Regions from separate parts of the Homo sapiens genome. Here region 2 is linked to region 1. The links are contacts of gene promoters, found by promoter capture Hi-C in human tissues and cell types (Jung and others, 2019). All regions are on one chromosome and are shown on one strand. Each heading gives the region's core, a stretch centred on a gene start or on the middle of the fragment in contact. The rest is flanking DNA. Distances are from core to core; before and after follow the strand shown.

Region 1 (5,438 bases), core at 322-2,821:
GCCCAGGCTGGAGCGCAGTGGCATGATCTCGGCTCACTGCAACCTCCACCTACCGGGGTCAAGTAATTCTCCTGCCTCAGCCTCCTACCGGGTTCAAGTGATTCTCCTGCTTCAGTCTCCCGAGTAGCTGGGACTACAGGCGCGCGCCACCACGCCCCGCTAATTTTTGTATTTTTCATAGAGGCATGGTTTCACCATGTTGGCCGGGATGGCCTCGATCTCTTGACTCGTGATCCGCCCACCTCGGCCTCCCAAAGTGCTGGGATTACAGGCGTGAGCCACCGCACCCTGTCTAATTTTTGTATTTTTAGTAGAAATGGGGTTTCACCACTATGGTCAGGCTGGTCTCAAACTCCTGACCTCGTGATCTGCCCACTTTGGTCTCCCAAAGTGTTGGGACTACAGGCGTGAGCCACCGAGCCTGGCCACAGGTTTATTCTTTTTGTCGTCATTGTTGCTGTTTTGAGACAGAGTCTTGCTCTGTCGCCCAGGCTGGAGTGCAGTGGTGTGATCTCGGCTCACTGCAACCTCCGTCTCCCGGGTTCAAGTGATTCTCCTGCCTCAGCCTCCCGAGTAGCTGGGATTACAGGCGTGCACCACCACACCCAGCTAATTTTTGTATTTTTAATAGAGACGGGGTTTCGCCATGTTGGCCAGGCTGGTCTCGAACCTCTGACCTCAGGTGATCCTCCTGCCTCAGCCTCCCAAAGTGTTGGGATTACAGGCGTGAGACACCGTGCCTGCCTGGTTTACATTCTCTCTTAATCCTTTGTTTATACACATCTGTGATTCACCAGACTGCGAACTCTTTGTGGGCATAAACTGAGTCTTACCCATTAGAACACGGACTTGAGCAGGGTGGCAAGTAAGGGATGGATTTCCTGAGACAGTCAACAATGAAGTTGCTTTTCCACTGCGTTCCCAACTGCTCAAATCTAGCTGGTTCCCCAATCCCAGTACACTTGCAGTAGCAACGGGGACCCTCTTCCTAAAGTTGCACCAAGCCAGGGATTCTCCACTCATTTCGCCCAGGTCCTAGCCCTGCCAGGCTTCCCCTTTGCTCCTCTGCAACCCCTGTCTAGGGAGGCGGGTGTCTTGGAAGGTCCTTGGGAGCTCCCTCCATCAATTTTGCATCTGCAATTAGGGCTACTTTACCCCAGTGAAGAAAGGTGCCCTCCGTATTAGGGCTTCCTTCCTCCAATTCCGACTGGACAGGGTAGCAGAGCGGGCAAAGTGTGAGAGCCTTTAGAAGGAAAGAGCAGGGCTCCAAGCGCCGCGAAGAATGGCCGAGGCCGACGCACAGCAGACGCTGGAGTGCAGCCCTCCTAGCCAAGCTTGGGTTTCCCCTTATCCCCGCCTCCTTCTCTAAGCTCGACCCACTTTAGGGCGGGACCACCCACTTCAGCCAATTCTGGAAGCCGAACCCTGGCGGTTTGTACTATTTCTTTCCAATAAGAAAAAAAGGAAGCAGCTTGGCTCCAATGACCAATCCGAGGAGGCGGCGCCTGGTTGTCAGGCAGTTTTGTAGGAGTTCGGGCCAATTGGAGGCGCAGGCACCGCTCGACCCGGGCGCAGCGCGCAGGCGGTGGCGAAGAGACGCCGAGCGGGCCGAGTGCGGCCGAGCAAAGCCGGAGCCGGAGCGGGGCCGCAGGAGACGGGCCGGGTCCGGACGGGCCGAGATGCCCTATAAACTGAAAAAGGAGAAGGTGAGCGTGGCCCTTTTTCCCCCACCGCCGCCTTGGAGCCTGCGCGGAGCTCTGGGAGGGGCCGGAGCCAGGCCCGGGACAGCCCCAGACTGACCCTCCCGTCCAGCCCCCGCAGGACTCCTGGGGCCAGCCCTCCGCCCCCGCGGCTGGCAGCACCCCCAGCTTGTGCCGCAGCTAGGACAGCTCCCCCACCTTGCCCCGGAGAGACTCCCCCCACATACACCTCCCTCCCTTCTTCCCTTCTCTTACCCCCGGCCCAGGGTAACCTCCTTCTTCCAGATCTGCCCCATTCCCAGGTCACTGTCCTGCTTTTTCTGTCCCCCCCATCACCCCTGGCCCCGATCCCCCTTCGGTTTGGGCAGCCCCTCATCTGAAACTGCACCTTCCTCCAGAATTGCCCCCTCGCCCCGCCCTGAGCAGCCCCTTGTCTCCTCTTCCTACCCGCCTGGGACAGCCGCCCCGCAGTCCCCTACGGCCCCTTCTCTTTCCATGCCAAGCCCCTGACCTAGAACAGCGCTGCTTTCTCTCTCCTCCACCCAAATCTGGCCTAGGCCCCTCCCTCTAGTTCTTCCTTCACACACAAACTTGTAAGCAGGACTGAGCCCTTCTGTTGATGGAACCTCACAACGTTGGTGCTGGAAGGGACCTCTGAGCGCATGCAGTGCAATCCCTAATGGTACAGATGAGGAGACTGAGGCCCCGACAGGGCAAGGGACTTGTCCAAGGTCACACAGCCTGCTGGAGGCCCAGCTGCAATATCAGGTCTCCTGACTTAAAGGCCTCTTTTGTATCAAAGCCCTCCTAACTGTCACCCAAGTGCATCCTAGACCAGTCACCTTTCCTAATCTGAGTAGGCTCCTCACCCTTATTCTTAATCCTAGGATAACCTTTGCATTTTTCCTTTTTTTTTTTCTTTTCGCACCAGTGCTGGATTTCTGCCTTTCCTAAGCTACACCATCTTCAAATTGGGAATTTGTCCTCACTGTCAGATTATTGTTCCTTCTTAGCCTGCAGGCCAGCCACCCCTGAACACCCATGTCTTTATCATGATGTCCTGACACAGGCCATTTCTTTTTTTTTTTTTTTTTTTGAGATGGAATTTTGCTCTTGTTGCCCAGGCTGGAGTGCAATGGCGCGATCTCGGCTCACCACAACCTCTGCCTTCTAGCTTCAAGCGATTCTCCTGCCTCAGCCTCCCAAGTAGCTGGAATTACAGGCATGCGCCACCACATCCGGCTAATTTTGTATTTTTAGTAGAGACGGGGTTTCTCCATGTTGATCAGGCTGGTCTTGAACTCCTGACCTCAGGTGATCTGACCCCCTCGGCCTCCCAAAGTGCTGGGATTACAGGTGTGAGCCACCGTGCCTGGCCCACAGGCCAGTTCTTAATGTTGCCTTCTTTCACCTTCCTCATCTACCTCGGTGCTGCCTTCCCCTGCTCCTCATCCGTGCCTTTTTCTACCCTCTGTTTCCTGCTGTTGCTGAGGTCTGACTCAGAGGTGTGGTTCCTTTGAGGTACAGACTCACACATAGGATGCTAGGATACCAGTTCCAGCCTCCCCCAGCTTCTCCTCTCCTGGGGCTGGCCCTTTTTGGTGGGGGTTGGCTCTGGCCTGGTGTTCTGGCCACCTGCTCGATGACCCCAGAGGTATATTGCTTTCATTTGCCCTCTGATTGGCTGGGTTACTGGGCTGCCATCTCTGACCTTTTCAATCAAACTTTTTCTCCTGGGGCTGTTCTGTATTTGCCAGGCAGCTCTGATTCTGAGTTGTCCCCTTAACCTTTCAGGGCCTGAGGTTCTAAGTACAGGGTTGGTGATGGTGTACTAGATAGTGAGCCTCCTGGGAGTAGTGAGCTGGACAGGGTTTTGTGCCCCACCCAGGCCCTGTCCTTGGGGAGTGGGCATGCGGAGGTGGTTTGGGTAGCTCAGTCGTAGACAATGCACACAGAAATCAGCCACAACAGGGGCTAAGGGAAATGGAATTCGGGGAAAGCTGGTGAGGTCCCCACCCATTTGTAATTTTTAGTCTGTTGGACTAGATACTGTCCCATCCACAGAAAGCAATAGCCTACTAGATTGTGAAGAAGACAAATTGCCAGTGAGATTTGCTAGGACCATGGGTGTAAACGTTTGGTTGGGAAAGGGTGTTGGAAGTAACGGGGTGCATGGAGCCAGGCATAACTCTCACCTCCCTATAAGGTTTTTCTGCTCTTGATTTTCAGTTGCATTTGGCCTTCTTCAATGGTTGGCAGGCTCTAAGGGGCAGGGGGGTTGCCAGTGTGACTGAGGTTTGTCTGGATGGCTGTGGGTGGAGGATCTTTATTGCTCATCTATGACCTGTCCCCTCTCTCCTGGCCATCTTTCACAGCTTCCTCTCTAAAGCCTTTCTGAGCCCTCAGTCAGGAGTGAACTCTCCTTTCTTTTCTGGATTTGCAGAACACTTAGTAGGCCACTTATGGTCCTTTTGTGTTTGGCCTTGGATGGGAATTAATTGTGGACAAGACTTTTCTTCCCCTTTGAGATAATAACTAAGTTTCATTTTGGTTTGACAACTCCTTTTCACACGGTAAGTACGTGCTTAGTGGATAGGTGCTAAGATAATCTCTTGGAGGGATTCGCATCTCTCCTCTTCCTTCATGTTCTCCTCTGGGACTTACCTCTTTTATTTTCCTGAGTAGGGTGCCCCTGCCCCCTCCGATTTTTTTCTTGTTCATAATAATAGTAATAACATTGACCAGCACTACGGTTTTCATGTGCCTTAACACTGTGCTGAGGGAAGAGGGTATTATGATTGTCATCATCTAATAGATGAGGAAACTGAGGCTCAGAGAGGCTAGTTAACTTGCCTGTGATTACACAGCCAGTAAGAGTTGGGCCCAAAACACAGGGCTGAGTCCAAACATGTTCTTTTAACCTCTGTGCTACACAGCATTTGACTACTGAGCTGGGCTGAAATGTGTGTGCTTCACCTGTTCTGCAGGAGCCAGGGAGCAAGGGTGGTAGGCCTGGTTCCTCCATGCCCACTCACACCCACACACTAAGGCAGCTGGATCTCTCTTAGGCTCATTCTTTGAAAGATACGTCTGAGGCATCATGCTGAGTGCTGTAGGGTGGGTGGAGGGGTACAAAAAAGAATAAGCAGCTTATGGTCTAATAGATTGGAGATGTATGAAGATGGGTCAGCTTTGTTCAAGGGGTTCATGTCTGGGGTGTGTGCAGACACCTCAATGTTGTGTCCTGCCTGCACCCTGCCCCCGGCCTATTTCTCTCCACCCCATGCTCTCAGCCACTGATAAGGGTCAGTGTGGCCAGCTGGGTTAGTATACAGCAGGAGCGTGCTCAGGCCAAAGAAGGAACTCCTTCCCCCTACTGCATGGAGCTGCTCTACACCACACCTTTCTTCCTCCCCACCTCCAAGAAGCCTTCCCCCTACTCCAGCCCACACAGAGCTCTCTTCTCCCTGAAATCCTTTTGCCCCCATAGTCACAATAACTCGATTTAACACTTCTCACTGAAGGGGCTTGGCTGCTATTGAATTGCACAATCTCAGAGCTGGAAGTGATTTCCAAGATCCTCCAGTCCTCATTAAAGGCTTGAATTTCTTTTGCAACATGCCTTACAGGAGGTCACCAAGCCCCTGCTTGAATGTTCTCAGGGGTTGGGGAGCTTTCGGCTTCACTAGGTGGCCAGTTTTAGTGCAATTGCTCCATGATAAAATTCTTCCTTGTTTG
Region 2 (5,245 bases), core at 779-3,278, 230 kb before region 1:
CGCGCCCGGCCTTTTTTTTTTTTTTTTTTTTTTTTTTTTTTTAATACTTTAAGTTCTGGGATGCATGTGCAGAATGTGCAGTTTTGTTACATCGGTATACATGTGCCATGGTGGTTTGCTGCACCTATCAACCTGTTATCTAGGTTTTAAGCCCCGTATGCATTAGGTATTTGTCCTAATGCTCCCCCTCCCCTTGCCCAGTTTCCTTTTTTTAAAGTTATTTTATTTGAATAAGGATCCAAACAAGTTCCATACACTGCATTTAGTTATTGTGTCCCTTAAATCACTTTTTTTTTTTTTTAGTTAGACAAACAGCTTTATTTGAAAGATGTGGTCAGCCAAGTCCCCCTCCAACCCCAAGGTCCTGGCAGCATTGGCCTCAGGCGTGGGAGGACCCGTGTCCTGGGTGGAGAGCCTTAAATCACTTTCACTGTGTGGGTTCCTTTTTCTCTAAATTGTTTTGTTGAAGCAGCTTGGTCATTTGTTCAGTAGAGTTTCCCACAGTCTGCATTTTGCTGGTTGCATCTCTATACAGTATTTGTTAAATTTTAAACGTCTGTTGTATTTATTTGATCTTTTAATGTTACAAAGGGAATCTCATGATTGTAGTTACATGCCTCAAGAAGTAAGTAGTGAAAGCATTTAAGCAAAGGAAAACAGTCTTTAGGTATGGTAAACAATAAAGGAATAGGCCCTTCGGTGTTCTCTGGAGTTTGTCAGGGACCCTGCACTGGTGGAAGATACCAGCCACACCCAGGCAAATAAAAGGACCCTTTTTCTTTCTTTTCTTTTTTTTTTTTTTTTTTTTGAGACGGAGTTTTGCCCTTGTTGCCCAGGCTGGAGTGCAGTGGCATGATCTTGGCTCACCGCAACCCCCGCCTCCTGGGTTCAAGCGATTTTCCTGCCTCAGCCTCCCAAGAGGCTGGGATTATAGGCATGCGCCACCATGCCGGGCTAATTTTGTATTTTTAGTAGAGACGGGGTTTCTCCATGTTGGTCAGGCTGGTCTTGAACTCCTGACCTCAGATGATCCGCCCGCCTCAGCTTCCCAAAGTGCTGGGATTACAGGCATGAGTCACCGCGCCCGGCCAAGCCCCTTTTTCTAGTAGTTTGATGCCAGAAAGAAGCATCACCTATTCATCTTTCAGCAAGTCTTGACTATATATGGGATGTAAAGCATTCATTAAAGAGCTGTGCACATCAAAATTATCAAATGTTAGGCAAATCTTCCTACCTTGGCTACTTTCTGGCAGGAAGACAGTGAAAGGTGACAGTTGTGCAGGCAGGTCCTGTTGTTGGGAAGCAGGACAGGAGCAGCCTTTTCCTTCTGCCTTTGCCCCTGGCGCTCTCCTCTGCCTCAACGCCCTTGACCTTCTGAAACTTTTTTCATCATTGTACACTTAACGTCTAGCACATAGGCTGGCACGTGTTTATTTATCTAAACATCTGTTTATTAAGCACTAACTGTGCCCAGCACTGAGCCAGGGAGGCCCTAAGACTGCCAAGGTGGATAAAAACAGACATCGTCCCTGTCCTCCTTAAGAAGGCCTAATTTGGGCAAATAGTCACAAAAACATGTAAAATGTGTTCTTTGCTTGCTGAGACTGGGTCTCTCTCTCACCCAAGCTGGAGTGCAGTGGCATAATTATAGCTCACTGCAGCCTCAAACTCCTGGGCTCAAGCAATTCTCCCATTTCAGCCTCCTGAGTAGCTGGGACTACAGATGCATGCCACCGTGCCCAGCTAATTTTTTTTTTTAGATTGAGTCTCACTGTTTCCCAGGCTGGAGTGCAGTGGCGCCATGTTGACTCACTGCAGCCTCCACCTCCCAGGTTCAAGCAATTATCCTGCCCCAGCCTCCTTAGTAGCTGGGATTACAGGCACACACCACCATGTGTGGCTAATTTTTGTATTTTTAGTAGAAACAGAGTTTTGCCATGTTGGCCAGCTAGTCTCCAACTCCTGACCTTAGGTGATCCACCTGCCTCTGCTTCCCAAAGGGCTGGGATTACAGGTGTGAGCCACAGTGCCCTGCCCCCAGCTGACTTTTTTTTTTTTTTTTTTTTTTTGGTTGGGGGGGTACGGAGTTTTGCTCTGTCACCCAGGCTAGAGTGCAGTGGTGCAATCTCGGCTCACTGCAACCTCCGCCTCCCAAGTTCAAGTGATTCTGCTGCCTCAGCCTGCCGAGTAGCTGGGACGACAGGCACTTGCCACCATGCCTGGCTAATTTTTTGTATTTTTAGTAGAGACTGGTTTCACCATGTTGGCCAGGCTGGTCTCGAACTCCTGACCTCAGGTGATCCATCCACCTCACCCTCCCAAGGTGCTAGGATTACAGGCATGAGCCACCATGCCTGGCCTGATTTTTAAATGTTTTTGTAGAGACAGGGTCTTGCTGTGTTGCCCAGTCTGGTCTTGAACTCTTGGCTTCAAGGGATCCTCCTGCCTCGGCCTTCCAAAGTGCTGGGATTACAGGCATGAGCTACTACACTTGGCCAATCATTGCTATAAAAGAAAGAGTTACAAGGAGCCCACTAGTGGTGGGGGTTGCCTTGTTGGGATGGTCATGGAAAGCTTCAGAGGGGGTTGAGCTGAACGGGAAAGCATGAGTAGGAATTAACAAGAGAGAAGACATAAAGCACGTAAGGGTCCTGGAAAAGCTGGAGGAAATGGTACTTAAAACACAGGTGCAAGGAGTAGTTATAGATAGGAGGAGGGACATCCTCTCTATTGCACTGTTGTTTGAACTTGTTTGTTTTTTTTCAGACAGGGTCTCACTCTGTCACCAAGGCTGGAGTGCGGTGGCACGACCTTGGCTCAGTGCAACCCCCGCCTCCTGGGTTCAAGTGATTCTCCTTCCTCAGCCTCCTGAGTAGCTGGGATTACAGGTGTGCGCCACCACACCCAGCTAATTTTTGTATTTTTAGTAGAGATGGGGTTTCACCATGTTGGCCAGGCTGGTCTTGAACTCCTGACCTTAGGTGATCTGCCCGCCTCAGCTTCCCAAAGTGCTGGGATTACAGGCACGAGCCCCTACACTTCATGAGAAGGCATGAGCACTTCCCAAAGTGCTGGGATTACAGGCATGAGCCACTACACTTCATGGGAAGGCATGAGCACTTCCCAAAGTGCTGGGATTACAGGCATGAGCCACTACACTTCATGGGAAGGCATGAGCACTTCCCAAAGTGCTGGGATTACAGGCATGAGCCACTACACTTCATGGGAAGGCATGAGCACTTCCCAAAGTGCTGGGATTACAGGCCGTGTTTGAAGTTTTTAATGAGAATTTGCTAACATACAGAAACTTTTTTTTTTTTTTTGAGACGGAGTCTTGCTCTGTTGCCCAGGCTGGAGTGTAGTGGCACAATCTGGGCTCACTGCAAGCTCCACCTCCCGAGTTCATGCCATTCTCCTGTCTCAGCCTCCCGAGTAGCTGGGACTACAGGCGCCCGCCACCACGCCTGGCTAATTTTTTTGTATTTTTAGTAGAGACGGGGTTTCACTGTGTTAGTCAGGATGGTCTGGATCTCCTGACCTTGTGATCCGCCCATCTCGGCCTCCCAAAGTGCTGGGATTACAGGTGTGAGCCACCGTGCCATACATAGACTTTTTGACGTCAACTCATAGTAACAGATGTGTCATAATTGAAACAGATGTTTTAAGAAACAATAAATACTCTTACTATGTGCAGTGGACCCTATTTTCTATTCTATTTATTGCATTTAAAATGTGCTGATCAAGGCTGGGCATGGCAGTTCATGCCTGTAATGCCAGCACTTTGGAAGGCTGGGGCAAAAGGATTGCTTGAGGCTAAGAGTTTGAGACCAGCCTGGGCAACATAGTGAGACCCTGTCTCTACAAAAAAATGTTTTAAAAAATTGTCTGGGCATGGTGGCATGCACCTATAGTTGCAGCTATTCAGGAGGCTGAGGTAGGAAGCTCGCTTGATCCCAGGAGTTGGGGCTGCAGTGAGCCATGATCGTGCCACTGCACTTCAGCCTGGGCAACAAAACGAGACCCTGTCTCTAAACAAAAGCAAAAACAGCTGATCAAGACCTCCCTAAGTTAAACTGCAATTTTAAAATGCCGCATCAGCATTTCTTTATAGAAAAGGAAAAGGGGAGTACAGGTGCAGGAAAATGTATGGTAGTTGGTAGATGACTCTGATAGTTTCTGCGTCCTCTATAAAGCAGACAGTGAGGTCTCATGCTGAGTATGAGGAGAAAAGGGTGGAGGTAGGGGGTCTGGAAAGTGTGCAGAAGGTTTGAAAACCCTGGGGGAATAGGGAGAGTGTTGTCCAGAGAAATGGGGCTGGGTATGGTGTGGATGTTGAGCAAATACTTGGAGAATGAAGTTGGGAATGAATGAGAGCTTCCCAGGTGGGGCAATCTAAGCAGGAGACCAGCTCAAGAGAAGACAATGGGATTTGGGGCAGGTCAGAGGGGAAAAGCTCATGTGAAGAGCCTACTCCTCAGGAGCTGGGGTATCCCTGGAAGGTGGTGTCTCTGAAGAGTCTGGGCTTGACTCCTGCAGCCCCTCATGCATTTCCTATAAAACTCTTTAGAAGTGAACACCATTCTCCCCAAGACCCTCACTGCCTGTCAGCAGATGACCTTACCTACTCTTCACAGAAAAGAGGTGGCCAGATAGGACCTCCACATGCCTCCCCTCTCACTTCTAACTTATCTGTGAAGACCCACCTCTTTGTCTCTCTCCTTCTCACTCAGGGCAAAGCTCCCACCAGGGTTCTCTGTCCTCTTCCTTCCATTGCCTGGGACCTCGAGCCACCAGTCACCTCTTTCTTTTTTTTTTTTTTTTGAGATGGAGTCTTGCTCTGTTGCCCAGGCTGGAGTGCAATGGCGTGATCTCAGCTCACTGCAACCTCCGCCTCCTGGGTTCAAGCGATTCTCCTGCTTCAGCATCCCAAGTAGCTGGGATTACAGGCGCACGCCGCCACGCCCGGCTAATTTTTTTTTTGTATTTTAGTAGAGATGGGGTTTCACCGTGTTGCCCAGGTTGGTCTTGAACTCCTGAGCTCAGGAAATCCACCCATCTCGGCCTCCCAAAGTGTTAGGATTACAGGCGTGAGCCACCGCGCCCGGCCCAGTCACCTCTTTCTTCAGGATTTTTAATCTCTCTTTTCTTTGGCATCTCCTCTCAGCAAGCAAGTTTCCTCAACTTAAAACAATTTACCTTTTGTCCTATCATCCACCCAAGTGATGTTCTAACTTTCTTCCCCTAA

Evidence for each region. Contacts are between HindIII fragments. The study calls those that stand out against the background at their distance.
Region 2: a fragment that was not itself captured here is called in contact with the fragment with the promoter of PPP2R5D in region 1 in 1 of the 25 tissues and cell types used here (IMR-90 fibroblasts).

The regions. Positions count from the first base shown.
Region 1 is chr6:42,982,999-42,988,436 of GRCh38, forward strand. PPP2R5D (protein phosphatase 2 regulatory subunit B'delta) reads left to right here and starts at 1,572. Exons shown (of 16, transcript NM_006245.4): 1 at 1,572-1,706. The coding sequence starts at 1,680. It overlaps LOC124900215 (a long non-coding RNA gene), which reads right to left and starts at 1,316. Exons shown (of 2, transcript XR_007059580.1): 1 at 834-1,316. RefSeq lists an enhancer at 1,351-1,470 and silencers at 1,621-1,690, 1,781-1,930. The HindIII fragment of the contact is 19,136 bases long and covers 14-5,438 here.
Region 2 is chr6:42,750,867-42,756,111 of GRCh38, forward strand. It overlaps a transcript of BICRAL not described here and the pseudogene LOC124901226. Among named protein-coding and RNA genes, the nearest start is that of TBCC, 7.4 kb to the left of the region's middle. The HindIII fragment of the contact is 4,090 bases long and covers 1-4,073 here.